Regions from separate parts of the Homo sapiens genome. Here regions 1, 2, 4 and 5 are each linked to region 3. Evidence: promoter capture Hi-C in human tissues and cell types (Jung and others, 2019). All regions are on one chromosome and are shown on one strand. Each heading gives the region's core, a stretch centred on a gene start or on the middle of the fragment in contact. The rest is flanking DNA. Distances are from core to core; before and after follow the strand shown.

Region 1 (2,700 bases), core at 88-2,587, 410 kb after region 3:
GTCCTCCTCTTCAGGGGTCTGGGCCTTAGCTCTGAAGGACCCTCCACTGAGGTTTTAAGTTTCATTAATTCCAGCCTCTTCGATTGTTCCCTCAGCCCCAGGGTGGGGAGCTGCTTTCTGCCATCTACCTCCATGATAACCTCCACGTTCTCCTCTTGACTTCTTAATTACCTCCCTCAAAGGCTAACATTTCTTTAGTTTAAATTCTCTGTATTAAAAACCAAACAAATGGCATGGTTTCTGTCTCCTGCCTCGACCTCACTGATGCGGCAAAGAAGGAAGGGAGAAACAAATTTATCAAGAAGTCTGTGGTCTTTATCCCTGTTATCGCACCAGATTCTAATAAAGTACAGAAAGAAAACACAGAAAAACCAATTCACAACATAAATTTAAACAAAGAACTGAAGGAACAAGGGTGTTGATAAGTTGCTCAGGGAATGACAAAGGTGCTTCAGGCACGAATCCTCTGCTCATCGAGGGGAACTTCAAAGGTACCAGCTCCCTCTCCTCTTGTGATACTCAACAAGAAAACACTCTCCAAGTACTATGCCCTACACTGAAGGGTCCCCATCCCTGCAAAGAAAAGATCCTAGGCCTACATGCCCTCAAGTTTCTTTCCCTTCCACCCAAAAAATACTCAGCGATGTCAGAAGAGAACTCCCAACTAGGTGAGGGACCTGGGAATCAATGTCAGGAAGGGTGAAGGAGTATGGAACAGGACTGGAGGTGCCTGTCCCCATGCCTGCCACGTGGAAACACTCCTTCCACAGACCCTTAGCCAGGGATTTAGCTGCTGTGTGTTCAGCCACCTGCTACCCTGTGGGGCCATCATTAATTGTGTTTGAACAATAGCAATGAGCCAGAAAATACAGCCCTACATTCTGACTGGCACAGGACTCTCCGACCATCTTCCTGTCCCCATGGCTTCTCCACTGCCCCGAAATGCCATAAAAAATTCGCCTGAGCCTGAATAAAATCGAATGAAACATTTTCCTATGGGCTATTTTTTTCAATAACTTCCTCCCCAAATAACCCAAGGATTCAAAGTGGTTTGCGGAGCCTCACCATTGTCCTTACTTGACAGGTAATATGGAGACAGCCTTTGTTCCCACGGAAAGTGTGAAGAACCTGAATGTGACAAACCACACAGGAGGTAACTTCCTTTTGGCAGAGTTGTCCACAGGTGCTGAATTTCTTTAATTTATTTATTTTTGTGGAGAGGGAGGTGGAAGACGATGGGCATAAAAAGACACCCACTGGCTCATCATTTCAGTTGGAGGTGTTTCTCTGCAACATGTTCTCTTGCTGCACCTTCTCTTACAGGTATCACTTTGCCCCTGCACTGTGAAGATAACTGTTTACTGGGTACGGCCGTGCACCTCTGTGTTTGGAAAGGCACCAGCAGAGGCCGGTGGGGGCGGGAGGTGCAGTTCCTTCATGGAGGAGCCATAGGGGTAACCTTCCAAGAGACACGGCTTTGCGTGAGCTGGAAAACCTTGCATGGATACGCCTGTTACTCACTCACGGTCGGCAGGATCCTGTCTGTTCTGTCCACCCCTCCTCACTTGTTCTGTGTGCTGCTAATGAACCAGAAGCACGGCATTGCTCAGGACGGCTTTGGTCGGCTCACCCTTTCTAGTACTGTGACAAGGAGATAAGGCAGAAAGCAGAGATGGGAGGAGGGTGAGGGCCAGAGGGAAGATTTGTGAGATGAGGCAGAGAGAGAAGAAGCGCCGATCGCCTTAAGAGGCTGGGCTGCAAGCAGGTTGTGACCAGGCGCTGTGTGGCCCAGTGTGATGGATGGTTGGTCCCTCATGCCACCAGCTGTGACTTCAAGAGGCCTGGGTACCTGCTAGGTCCTCCTTTCTGGGCTTTTCTCGCTCTGGGCCTCGTGGCAGGCAAGGAGTACTGACTGTGCTGCGAATATGAAACATTTCTTTGCTAAGGGAAAGCGAGGGGAGACAAAGCAGGGTATATCAACATCAGAGACGGCGTCTGCTGCCTTCCCCATTCTTACTGGCTATCGGTTGTTTTGAAATACGGGATCTCTCCAGGTGCCTAGCATATGTCCTCTCAGCTCTAAAGCAAAGGCACTAGATAAATCCAATAAACAAAGAAAGAGTCTGGGGTAGAGGCTCAGTCTATTTCAGGGTTGGCAGGTTGGTGAATTTTCTACTGTAAGATCACACCACTGTTTTCAAGGGATTTAAAATATTACAAGTGATAGTAGAGGCTGTGTCTCTTAAAGATTTGAACCAGTCAAAGTAAATATGGCAGGTTTGTTTTTTGTTGTTGTTGTTTTGTTTTTCTTTTCTGTTTTTTTTTTTTGGAGACAAGGTCTCGCTCTGTCACACAGGCTGGAGTATAGTGGCGTGATCACGGCTCACTGTAGCCTCAACCTCCTGGGCTCAAGTGATTCCCTGACCTCAGCCTCCCAAGTAGCTGGGACTAAAAGCATATACCACTATGTGTGGCTAATTTTTGTATTTTTTTGTAGAGATGGAGTTTTCCCATGTTGCCCAGGCTGGTCTCAAACTCCTGAGCTCAAGCAGTCTTCCCACCTTGGCCTCCCAAAGTGCTGGGATTACAGGCGTGAGCCACCGCGCTCAGCCAAATATGGCATATTTTAAAAGGCTAGAGCAGCCATATAAAAATATGAGCATCTACAAAATGTATTGTCTGCAAACACTTTGGCATCAA
Region 2 (2,700 bases), core at 166-2,665, 400 kb before region 3:
GGACGACAGAGCGAGACTCCATCTCAAAAAAAAAAAAAAAGAAAAAAAAAAAAAGGCAATTTTAAAGAAAGAAAGACTAGGACATCTCTCTGTGTTTTAAAATACATAAATGTATTTCTATATAACCAATGAGTCAAAGAAGGGATAATGGATGCTTGAAAATATATTAAACAAAATGCTAAGAAAAATACCACATATTCGAACTCATAGGACACAGTTAAGGGCAGGATTAGAGAAAAACTTATATCCTCAAGGTGAATATGTAAGATAAAAGAAAGTCACAAAAGTAATGAACTAAGCATCTTTCCAGGAAACTAGAAAAAGAACAGCAAAATAAACCCAAATGAAGTAAAAGAAAATATATTTGATGTTGTTTTTTTTGTAGATTCCCCTCAGCAAATTAAGAAAGTTTCATCTTATTCTACTTTATGATGGCACTTCATGATGAATGGATGTTGAAATGTAGCAAACATTTTTTTCTGCATCTATTAACGTTGTTTATGTGGACTTTTTTCCTTTGATCTGTGAGTGTGGCTAATCACAGCAACATATTTTTTTCTTTAATGTTGAAACAACCCTACATTCCTCGGGTGAATTCAATTTGGTCATTTCTTCCTTTTGAAAATTGCTAGATTACATTTGCCGATGTCTTATTCATTCGTTTTGCATTTATGTTTATAGATAAGATCAGTCTGTTATTTTCTTCCTCTTGTTTTACTATCCTTATTGAATTTCGGCATCAAGGTGTTGCTAGAATCATAAGGTGAACTGAGGAACGTGTCCCTCTTTTTCTTATTTAAAGAGTTTGATAAAACTATCAGCATTTTTTCCTTGAATATTTTGTGAGATCATCTAGTGAAGGAAGTTAAATATCCTTGGATTATCATCGTGGAGAGAGTTTGGATTACTAATTCAAGTTCATTGATGGTTATATTACAGTTTATTCCTCTTATTTCTTCTTAAATCAGTTTTAAAAAGATGTATTTTTTAGAAATTTGTCTATTTCATCTAAATTATCAATTCTCTTGACAGAAAGTTGTTAATAATAGTCTTCTGTGCTTAATGTCTGCAGGATACCTAATGATGTTTGTTTATTCATTTTTGTATTATCTCACTTAATCTTTACAAATAAAGCTATGATAAATACTATGATTATTTCCACTCTATAGTTGAGGGAACTGAGTAAGCTTCAGAAAGTTAAGTCATCTCTCTATTAATGGACAGATCATAGATTTGAATCCAGGCAGCTAGGGTTCCCTTCTTTGACTCTTAACTAATCATTATGTTATACTTTTTCCATCATAGTAGTGATGACAATGACACTTCAAAGACCAGGGTATCTACAGTTTTGGTAACACATGGGCTTTATATAATTTTATATTTTTGTTGCTGTTTTATAAAATGTTCACTAAACTAGTTGGACCTGGTTCTAAAGAGTCAACATTGAATCCATCCCTGGATAGGCAATTTTTTTTCTCACTGATTGCTTTAGTCCAAGCTTGTAACAAGACAGCCTTACCAGATTAAATTGCAGGTTTTTGTTTACAAAAAGGTTTGTGTAAAACCCAGACGCACTGTTGGAATTAAGAAGTAATACATCTTCACTTCTAAGACTCTAGGCCAAGCCACCACCATTTCTTGTCTGAGATGCTGTAATAACTTACAGTTGGTCTCCTTTTGATCAATTTTCTACAAAGAAGTCATTATTTTGTTTTAAAAACATACATTATACCATGCCATGTAATTTCCTTATTACAGACCTTCCTTTGGGAATAATATTTTCAGATTTATTATAATGCTTTCTTTTTTCTTTCATTACCAAGGAAACAACCTTGCTGTGGCTTGCTGAAGACACTTAACCTTTGAGGAGTTATTAGGACTTATTATAGAAGAAATCAGTTGGGCTGAGGAAGTGAGACAAGGAAGGGAAGGAGGCCGTTGCGGGCTTCATTAATGAGCTGTTACCATGTGGGCAGCTGGAGCTCCATCCCACTGGAGGGCTTGCTTCTGGGACACTACATATAATCTGCTTCAGAATTGTCCTACTCGAGTGGGGGCGGATTGGTTATTTATCCACCCACTCTTGACTGACATATTGAGATCGTCTTGTGAGGGAATGAACTTTCTGGCACTTCAGGCCTGTCGTGCACATAGACCAAGAATTCCTCGTGATTAGAGAATTCCCTCTGCAAGAGGGTCACAGATGCTTACAGCTAAAAGCCATCTGCCTGTAAGGGAACAGTGGATATCAAGAAAATATGGGTGAAGCCTCAATACTTGCACTGCTGTGGTCAAATTCTGTCCCATCTTAAGTTCACTCTGTCTGATAACTGATTCTTCACAGTGAAATCCAGCCATAATTTCTTTAAAACACAACAAAGCAAAGTTCAGTAGGAGGATTAATAGGACCAGCTACAGTCCCTGCTGCTTCAGTTGATCCCAAGGACATAATAGACATTTACCTCCCTCTTTTACTGTCCACTCTAGATGCTCCTCACGCTCATTCAACACTTCTGCTTGGGTTTCTTGTGCAATCGGTGGCCCAGACATTGATACTGAAGCTTCTGAGTTACTGGTTACTGTGCCCTAGTCATGCCATGATTGCTGACTGCTCTTTCATGGTTATTACTGGACACAGAAGCACAAAAAGCCATCCCTGAGTCCTTGATATACTCTTCTGTGCCACCTTTAGCCAGCAGC
Region 3 (2,700 bases), core at 110-2,609:
TTTTATTAAAGACGCTACAATTTAGACTTTTTTTTTTTCTGTTTGGTGCAGAAGAAAGGAAGAAAACCAGAGCTTAAAGGCGTTTAGAAAGGAAATAGCCCTGTTAGTTTTTCGGTTTTGACTCAAGCTGTCGTCGATAGCAGCTTGCACCTAGCACAAAGCCAGCTGCAGAAGTATTTTGTTGCAGGGTAGGCTACACCTACACAGGGTCTGTGCCTGAGCATCAAAAGACAGTGCAGGTGTGTGTGGGTCCGGGTGTGCGTGTGCGTACGTGATGTACGTGTGTGCGTGTGGGTACGTGTGTGTGTAGCCCAACAAATAAGCCCAAGAGGCGCATCAAGATTAGAAAGAAGTCCGCACACCAGCGCTTGCCTTGGAAATTTCCTAAAGCGCTGAGAGTTGGTTGGTAAATCACTAGTATCCGAAAACTGTCTTATCAGAGGCTCCTTCCCCGGTGCCCTACTCGCCCCCTAAAACAGGTGTCGCTGTGTCCCTTGAAGCGGCCTTTGGCCCGCTGGGGCATCGCAGGTGGGTAAAATTCAGAGGACATTCGGTGTTTATTTCTGGGGCCCCACGTGTGCAAACCAAACCCCCGGGGCCTGGGCGTGTGCGCGCGCTCGCGTGCCTTGTGTGCGGGCGGGCATGGGGGCGCTCGGCGCGGCTGGCGGGCGTGCGCGCGCGCGTTTGTGTGTGTGTGTGTGTGTGTGTGTGTGTGTGCTCGTGCGGGGGGCCGGGCTGCGTGCTCACGCGCTCCAGGCTGCGCCCAGAGCTCAGCTGCTGGGTTGGAGAAAAAGAGGGTAGGCAAGCGCAGGGGGCGGGCGGCCGAGGAGCGCTTTCGAATTAATCGAGCTAGCTTAGCTGTTTTTCCCTCTCCCGCTCCTTTAAACCCCCCTGCATCGTAGAGAGCGGGCTGGATTCTCTGTGGTGCTGATGGAGGAGGGGGAGCAGGTTGAAACAATCGAGTGGGCGCGCCAGGACTCCCCAGCTCCTGGCGGGGAAGGGAGGGGGAGCCCCTGTTCTGCGCAGGGAGGCGGCGGGGCTGGGGGGCCCCCGGAACGAGGAAGAGGCAGGGGTGACCGCTAGAATAGGAAAGTGCTCACCCCCGGGAGGCAAAATTTCGTTCAGATCGCACATTAATTGGAGATATCTGATTAATTCCAGCTTCTGATGACTATAAATGGCGATTCTCTACCAAGGTGTCTATATTAAAAAAAAAATCATTCCGTGTCATCCCCCACGTCAGGCCTGCTCGTGGGCGTGAGGCTGTACTTCCTCCGCCCCCTTCTAATGGAGTGAACCATTCCCAGCTCTCCCCCCCCCCTCAGCCTCTCTCTCTCTCTCTCTTTCTCTCTCTCTCTCTCTTTCTGTCTCTTCCTCGCTCCCTCTCTTTCTCTCCTCCCTCTGCCTTCCCAGTGCATAAAGTCTCTGTCGCTCCCGGAACTTGTTGGCAATGCCTATTTTTTGGCTTTCCCCCGCGTTCTCTAAACTAACTATTTAAAGGTCTGCGGTCGCAAATGGTTTGACTAAACGTAGGATGGGACTTAAGTTGAACGGCAGATATATTTCACTGATCCTCGCGGTGCAAATAGGTAAGTGGCCGCTCAGCCCGGCTGGAGGCTGGAGGCGGGAGGCAGCCTGCCCCGGCCCGAGGCGCGGAGGGGGACTAGCGGGTCCGCGGCCGCCCCAGGGTGCGGAGAAGCCGGCAATCCCCCGAGGGTGGGGGCATCAGTTCCTGGGGACTAGCGCGTCCCAGATCGGTTTTTCCTAAAGCTATAGATTCCAAATGTTCGCCAGGAAATGTGTGCGGCCGGACATTTTCTGGACACGGTTTTTTTCCCCCTTTTTCCTGAGCACACATCCATTTTTGTTTCCCTTTCTGGGTTTATACCAGGTTTGGTGCGCTCTGGGGCAATGTACTGGCCCCTGCGATACTGCAAGATATGATTTTGAAGAGTCGAAATGTGAATGCAGGAATAAAATGGCTAGGCAGCCAGGACTGGAAAGTTTATGTGCTGAAAGCAAAGATATTCCAGGGCTCAGACTGCTGCATTTAGAACTTTGTCATTCTCCCGCCCCTCCTCCCCCCTATATCCTAGCTGCAGCGTTTGCACGGGCACCGCAGACCCGGCTGGTGGGCAAATCGAGAGTGATAGGGAACTTCAGACCACATATTTTAACATGCTTACCATTGAAGAGGATGAATTCAGCCAAATTTACGTAGATATACTTTTCTAGATGCATTTGCCTGCTACTTTACACATTGGTGTCTGCATTTTATATATAGGAAAGGGTTAAGAAGTGTTTGGAATATGTCATGTCGGGTGTTTGTTATTTTTGTTTGTTTGGGATTGGTTATGGAAGGAATTATTTAGTCCCCATTTTATGTTAAGGAATGTTGAGTTGTAGTTACGCTGTCAGGGGTCTTTTTAAAGTTCACATTTTTACCATCCAGAATGAAGAAAAGATATAGAAGAGGGCACTAGAAAACCCCCTTCTCCGACACTGGGTCAGAACATTAATTAACGTGGCCTAAAAGTGAAAGTGAAGCAGGTTATTAATAGAATGGACAACACGGGGGAAAAAAGAAACTCCTGAAACGGAATTGTTACCTCCTATCAGTTCAGGCTGTGGCATTCTTTGCAGACAAATCCTTGCAGTATTGGGGGAGGGGGTGCTTTAGGTAATTGGTTTGGGGCAAGA
Region 4 (2,700 bases), core at 178-2,677, 270 kb after region 3:
ATGACTGATGCCTGTTCTAACGAGTCATTGTCCAGGCTGCGCTGGCTGTTAAATATTATGAATATAACCCCTAAGCGTTCCAAGATTTTGTCTTACGTTCTAGAAAATGAAAAAAACCGACAACGATACACACGCAACTCTTTGGTTAAAGTTTTATGCTTTCAGGAGTCTTGAAACTGCATTTTTTTTTTCTAAATGTATGGTCTGTGTTAAGTTTTTTTATTTTAACTGTTGGAAAGAAATCTGACTAGCTTCGTGACTCGTAACCAACTCTTCTTGCTGTTACCATATGGTGTTTCCTTTAATAAAAACATTTTACAGAAATAATGATTAAAAAAACTACTTTAAGCTTTTATAAAAGTTAGATGTTTCTGGCAATAAAAACATCCCTTATAATTATGTAGATAGCTTTGTACCCAGTAAACAGGAAAAACTCTGTTCTTGCTGTTTTACTTCTAAGAAATGATGATGCTCTCTGTCATTCATCTTTGGACATATTCTGAATCTCTTACTCATTGACCTCACTTTGGATCGTAGTAATGTACACTGAAAGAACCTGTTCTATTCATACATCTTTTAGGGTTCTGTTTCCTCTGACTGTTTGCAGTACAGCAACATATTCAATCTCTTCAGAGCTCTGGCATACTGTGTCACTTCTGATGAGGGCAGCTGCATTCAACAAAAGAAAAAGGACACATTTAAAAAATTCTAGAAGTAGCTGGGTGTGGTGCTTATGCCTGTAATCCCAACACTTTGGGAGGCCAAGGCAGGAGGATTGCTTGAGCCTGGAGTTTGAGACCAGCTTGGGCAACATAGTGAGACCCTGTCTCTACAAAAAAATTAAAAAATTAGCTGGGCGTGGTGGTGTGCATCTGTAGTCCCAAGTACTCAGAAGGCTGAAGTGGGAGGATTGCGTGAGCCTAAGAATTCAAGATCACAGTGAGCCATGATTGCACCACTGCACTCCAGCGTGGGTGACAGAGCAAGATGTGGTCTCTAAACAACAACAACAACAAGAATAATAACAACGAATTCTGAAGGTATGCAGAACAAAGCAACTGCTAATAGTGCCATGGGGAATCTGGGCTCTTCTTTCTGTCCCACCATCCTTAGGAAGCAAGCCACGGTCTTCATGGGTTGCAAGATGGCTGCTCCCTCTCCAGTCCTCCTATCAGCAATGCACAGATAGACGGAAGAAGGGTACATGGTAAAAGGCCAAAGGGGCATGCCAGACAAAAAGCCCTCAGGGAACCTCATCCAGAAATTTCTGCTTATTCTCATTGGCCAAAACTGGGTCACATGACCACCTCTAGGCTGGGATGGGGAAGTTATGCATGCAGGCTAGGTCAGCTGACCAATGCCATCTGCCACTCACACTATTCCAGAAAGCAGGGAGGGGGCTCACTTCCCTTCCCATAGGATCTTCTTTCTTTTTCAGACAGGGTCTTGCTCTGTCGCCCAGGCTGGACTGCAGTGGCACAATCTTGGCTCACTGCAACTTCCGCCTCCTGGGTTCAAGCAATTCTTCTGCCTTAGCCTCTTGAGTAGCTGGGACTACAGGCACATGCCACCACGTACAGTTAATTTTTGTATTTTTAGTGGAGACGGGGTTTCACTATGTTGGCCAGGCTGGTCTCAAACTCCTGACCTCGTGATCCACCCACCTTGGCCTCCCGAAGCTCTGGGATTATAGGCGTGAGCCATTGCGCCCGGCCAGGATCTTATTTCTGAAGCCTATTCTATTTCTTGTTTCCCCCATTGCCTTTCAGGATCCCTTTTGAGTGGCTCTGAGTGTATTTCTGTGAAGTTTTCGAGGCTCAGTTTTACTTCTGATGGAAGTAACTGTGTGATCTCCCTTCACGCAGGGTCATCTGTGTTGCTAATGTATGGTACCTGTGAAGTCTGATTTCATTTCCTTACATTAATTCATAGGGTGAAGGGAAAGTAGAGTAAATTTAAATGAATGTTTTCATCCAAAATAATCTGCCTTAGTGTGGAGGGCGAGAGGAAGGGAGCAAACTCACGTGCTAATGGGCATGGTGGAGACAGAAGAGAGATGAGTGAGATGGGATGCAAGTTATTCCACATTACAGCAGCTGAGGCAGTAAATTGGTTTGCCATGTACTTACCCATCACTCTTAGATAACTCTCCCTTCTGGATTAAAAAAGGGGTATTCTAGCACCTATGTGGTTTAAATTTATGCAAGAGTTGAATTCATGCTGGTCTATATTTAAAGCTCTGCAGCCATTTCTAGGATAAATAGCAAGGGGTACATGCAATTTTTTAAAAAAAAAAATCCCTTAAGGTTAAGCTGGAAAAATAGTTTCTAGCTTGTTTTTAAACTACTATCAGTTGAGCTTTTGCACTTGAATACAATCCAAAAAATAATCAGGTGACATGTCTTAGAATCAATGTGGACATAACCTTATTCTGAAGGGCTGCTTGCCCTATTTGCGCTGGTCTTTTTAGAGGCAACAGTTGTGAGGAGGAGGAGGAGAATTCTCTCAGCTCTCCAGAGACAAGAATGTGCCACCTGTGGTGGCAATCTCCAGAGATGCCCCCTAGAGATCCCCACCTCCTGGTGTTCCTGTCTTGTGTGGCCCCTCCCACAATGGACCAGGGTCAGTCTGTGTGTTCAAGAGAATATGGCAGAAGTGATGGTGTGTCACTTCCAAAGCCAGGCTACTCAAGACATGTGG
Region 5 (2,700 bases), core at 52-2,551, 310 kb after region 3:
GTAAAATAATGTGGTTACAACTGAGTGCACGGCACACAGGAAGTGTTCAGTAAATGGTGGCTTTACTTCCCTGAGATTTTAAACACCATCACCACTTAACAGCTCCAGCAAATGAGTCACAGACATGTGGCAAATTCCTGTTTCTCTGGAAGGCAGAGAAAGCACTGGGAATGACAGCGTACCGCCCGTGGGCCAGTCCCTGGCTTGCTGTGGCACTGCCACAAATGCTGCTGTTGTGTAACTTCCTAGGAAGCAGGATTAATTCCTAGCATGGATCTTAAGTCACTCTGGGATCTAAGAGATGTTTCGATCATTCTGGGATTTATGCTTCTTGAAAAGGCTCAGGACAAATGGCAGTGAAGGCTACGTGGATACACAGTTTGTGGGTAAGCACAGCGTCATCACCTTAACTTTCATGAGAATGAAAAGAAGAAATTGCTCAAGAAAAAACCAGAATTGAGACAAGAAATACAAGTGTAAAAGCTTACATGGCATTTATATATATCTGTTTTTTTCTTTTAGAGATGGGGTCTTGCTCTATCACCCAGGCTGTAGTGCAATAGTGTGAGCATAGCTCACTGCGGCCTCGAACTCTTCCAGGGCTCAAACGATCCTCACACCTTAGCCTCCCCAATGGCCAGGACTACAGGTGCGTGCCAGCAAGTTTGGCTAATTTTTTTTTTTTTTGTAGAGGTGTGGGGGGTTCTCACTATGTTGCCAGGCTGATCTCAAACTCCCGGCCTGAAGCAATCCTCCTGCCTAGGCCTCCAAAGGGCTGGGATTATAGGTATGAGCCACTGCACCTGGCCGTTACATGGCATTCCATATAGGATTCCTCCTTTTTCAAATGAGAACTCATAGGCACTACACATTGCTGAGTCCTTTAGAACATAGAGAGAAATATATACACCTGGTTGAAGGTCGTGCTGAATATTCACACTCGGTCTCTTATCTGATTCTATTTATCATGGCTAAATAGGTAAAAAATATATAAAATATAAAAACTCCTCCAAAGAACTCAATTATTTAAAAAGCTGCTTACTTTAACAGAGAACAGAGTCAAACTTTAACCAATTCTTATATGAAGGAATCTACTTTCCCCATAATTTCTAATCAATGTAACCTTCTATTATTCAGGAAAAAAGGTAGCCTAGATCTAAGGTATCATGATGTAACTGATTCAGAGTGGCAGTAGCTTTTTTGGTTGAATTTCAATTTCCAAATAGCTAGAAAACACTCCTGTTGGCTACCTGTTGTTAACTTAGCATCAAGACTGCTGCTCAGGTACCAGGCCTAGCATACACTGACCTTAGCTACTATAAGAAATGCTAAGGATTAGCTATATTCCTATTAACATGTTTTCAGATGTGTTTTCACCAGAGAACTCAACTTGTTTATTTCCTACAGAAACCTCTACATAGAGCACAGCACAATCTCTCAAATACAGCAGCAATGCTATCATCCAACTTACATGATCTTCCAGTGCGGCTTTGACAATCCTCCCTTTGAGAGGCGCAGGCTATGACCTCTTGCCTTGAAAATGGGTGGGCTTTTATGACTGCTCCCGCTAGTAGAGGGCGGTGGAAATGATGCTATGTGACTTCTGAGGCTAGGTGACAAAGATAGCGGAGCTTCCACCTGCTGACTTGCACACTTGCTACCATATAAGGAAGCTAACAATTCAGAAGACACTGCAGTAAGGAAGGCCAGGCCGCTTGGAGAGGTGAAATGTTCTCCAGCCATCACCCCAGCAAGTCCCAGCAGCCAGCCAGCGTCCAGTGCCAGATGTGTAAGTAAAGATGCCTCATCCCAGCCTAGCCAAGCAGTCACTCCCAGTCTTCGAGTCTTCCCAGACAAGGCCCCAGCATCACAGAATGGAGACAAGGACACGTGAGCACAATAAAATCAGTGCTTTATGTCACAAAGTTTTGAGGCAGTTTGTTACATGGCAATAGATAACCAGATTTTTACTCTAGGTTTACTTGAAAACAGGCCACCTTGCAACTGCTAAGGATAAATGATTCCCCAAAGCAGTGCAAAACTTCTGCAGAACAATGCAAACGCATTAGCCGCCTTGCCCATTAATATCCTGCTCAGCAGCCACGCTTTGGGAGGCAGTCGTTCATCTCTCCCTCCCTACATCAAAGCTAAGCAATGGATTCCCCATAAGTCATCAGGCTGCTCCAGGATTAGTGGTGAGGGGGCAGATCTGGTGAGGGTTTTCTGAAAATAAAGTAAAATATTTAGATCATTTTGCAAGTTGCTTTTCAGATGCCACATTTTTCTCTTTCATCTGTTCCAGCTGACAACGTGTGACAGTTGTCTCTGTGGCTGTTTAACCTTAAAACCATTTATCCTGAGATCATTAAAGATGAATGTCAGGCTGGATTTGCTATGTGTAAAGTAAACTAACAGGATGTTACTATGCCAGAAGAGTACAATAATAACTTATTGTTAATATTTGTTTTGCAAAACAGATGAAATACAAATTCTCTAATACAAAGTCTAACACAAAACAACGGGATGGGGAAGGGAAATATGGTATTGACTAACCTGAATCTATAAGGATCCTCATTTCTGGTGGGGAGAAAAAAAGGAGGTGGGATAAAGAGCCAGAGTATTACCTCTGAAGCTTGGGAGGGTTGGCAGCAACTTGGTGGGCTTGGTGACAGCACCCCTGATTTGGCCTTTCTGACACCT

Evidence for each region. Contacts are between HindIII fragments. The study calls those that stand out against the background at their distance.
Region 1: a contact is called between a fragment that was not itself captured here and the fragment with the promoter of NRN1 in region 3, in 1 of the 25 tissues and cell types used here (mesenchymal stem cells).
Region 2: a fragment that was not itself captured here is called in contact with the fragment with the promoter of NRN1 in region 3 in 1 of the 25 tissues and cell types used here (bladder).
Region 4: a contact is called between a fragment that was not itself captured here and the fragment with the promoter of NRN1 in region 3, in 1 of the 25 tissues and cell types used here (thymus).
Region 5: a contact is called between a fragment that was not itself captured here and the fragment with the promoter of NRN1 in region 3, in 1 of the 25 tissues and cell types used here (spleen).

What each region holds. Positions count from the first base shown.
Region 1 is chr6:5,592,015-5,594,714 of GRCh38, reverse strand. All of the region lies in intron 5 of FARS2 (phenylalanyl-tRNA synthetase 2, mitochondrial), which reads right to left. Among named protein-coding and RNA genes, the nearest start is that of FARS2-AS1, 140 kb to the right of the region's middle. The HindIII fragment of the contact is 9,548 bases long and covers 1-2,700 here.
Region 2 is chr6:6,402,054-6,404,753 of GRCh38, reverse strand. The region is part of intron 4 of LY86-AS1 (LY86 antisense RNA 1); the gene reads left to right. Among named protein-coding and RNA genes, the nearest start is that of F13A1, 83 kb to the right of the region's middle. The HindIII fragment of the contact is 3,779 bases long and covers 1-2,700 here.
Region 3 is chr6:6,005,584-6,008,283 of GRCh38, reverse strand. It overlaps NRN1 (neuritin 1), which reads left to right and starts at 1,359. Exons shown (of 3, transcript NM_016588.3): 1 at 1,359-1,589. The coding sequence starts at 1,535. The HindIII fragment of the contact is 19,231 bases long and covers 1-2,700 here.
Region 4 is chr6:5,736,266-5,738,965 of GRCh38, reverse strand. All of the region lies in intron 6 of FARS2 (phenylalanyl-tRNA synthetase 2, mitochondrial), which reads right to left. Among named protein-coding and RNA genes, the nearest start is that of NRN1, 270 kb to the left of the region's middle. RefSeq lists an enhancer at 947-1,448. The HindIII fragment of the contact is 3,779 bases long and covers 1-2,700 here.
Region 5 is chr6:5,692,831-5,695,530 of GRCh38, reverse strand. All of the region lies in intron 6 of FARS2 (phenylalanyl-tRNA synthetase 2, mitochondrial), which reads right to left. LOC101927950 (a long non-coding RNA gene) reads left to right here and starts at 259. Exons shown (of 4, transcript NR_110842.1): 1 at 259-386; 2 at 523-649. The HindIII fragment of the contact is 5,103 bases long and covers 1-2,700 here.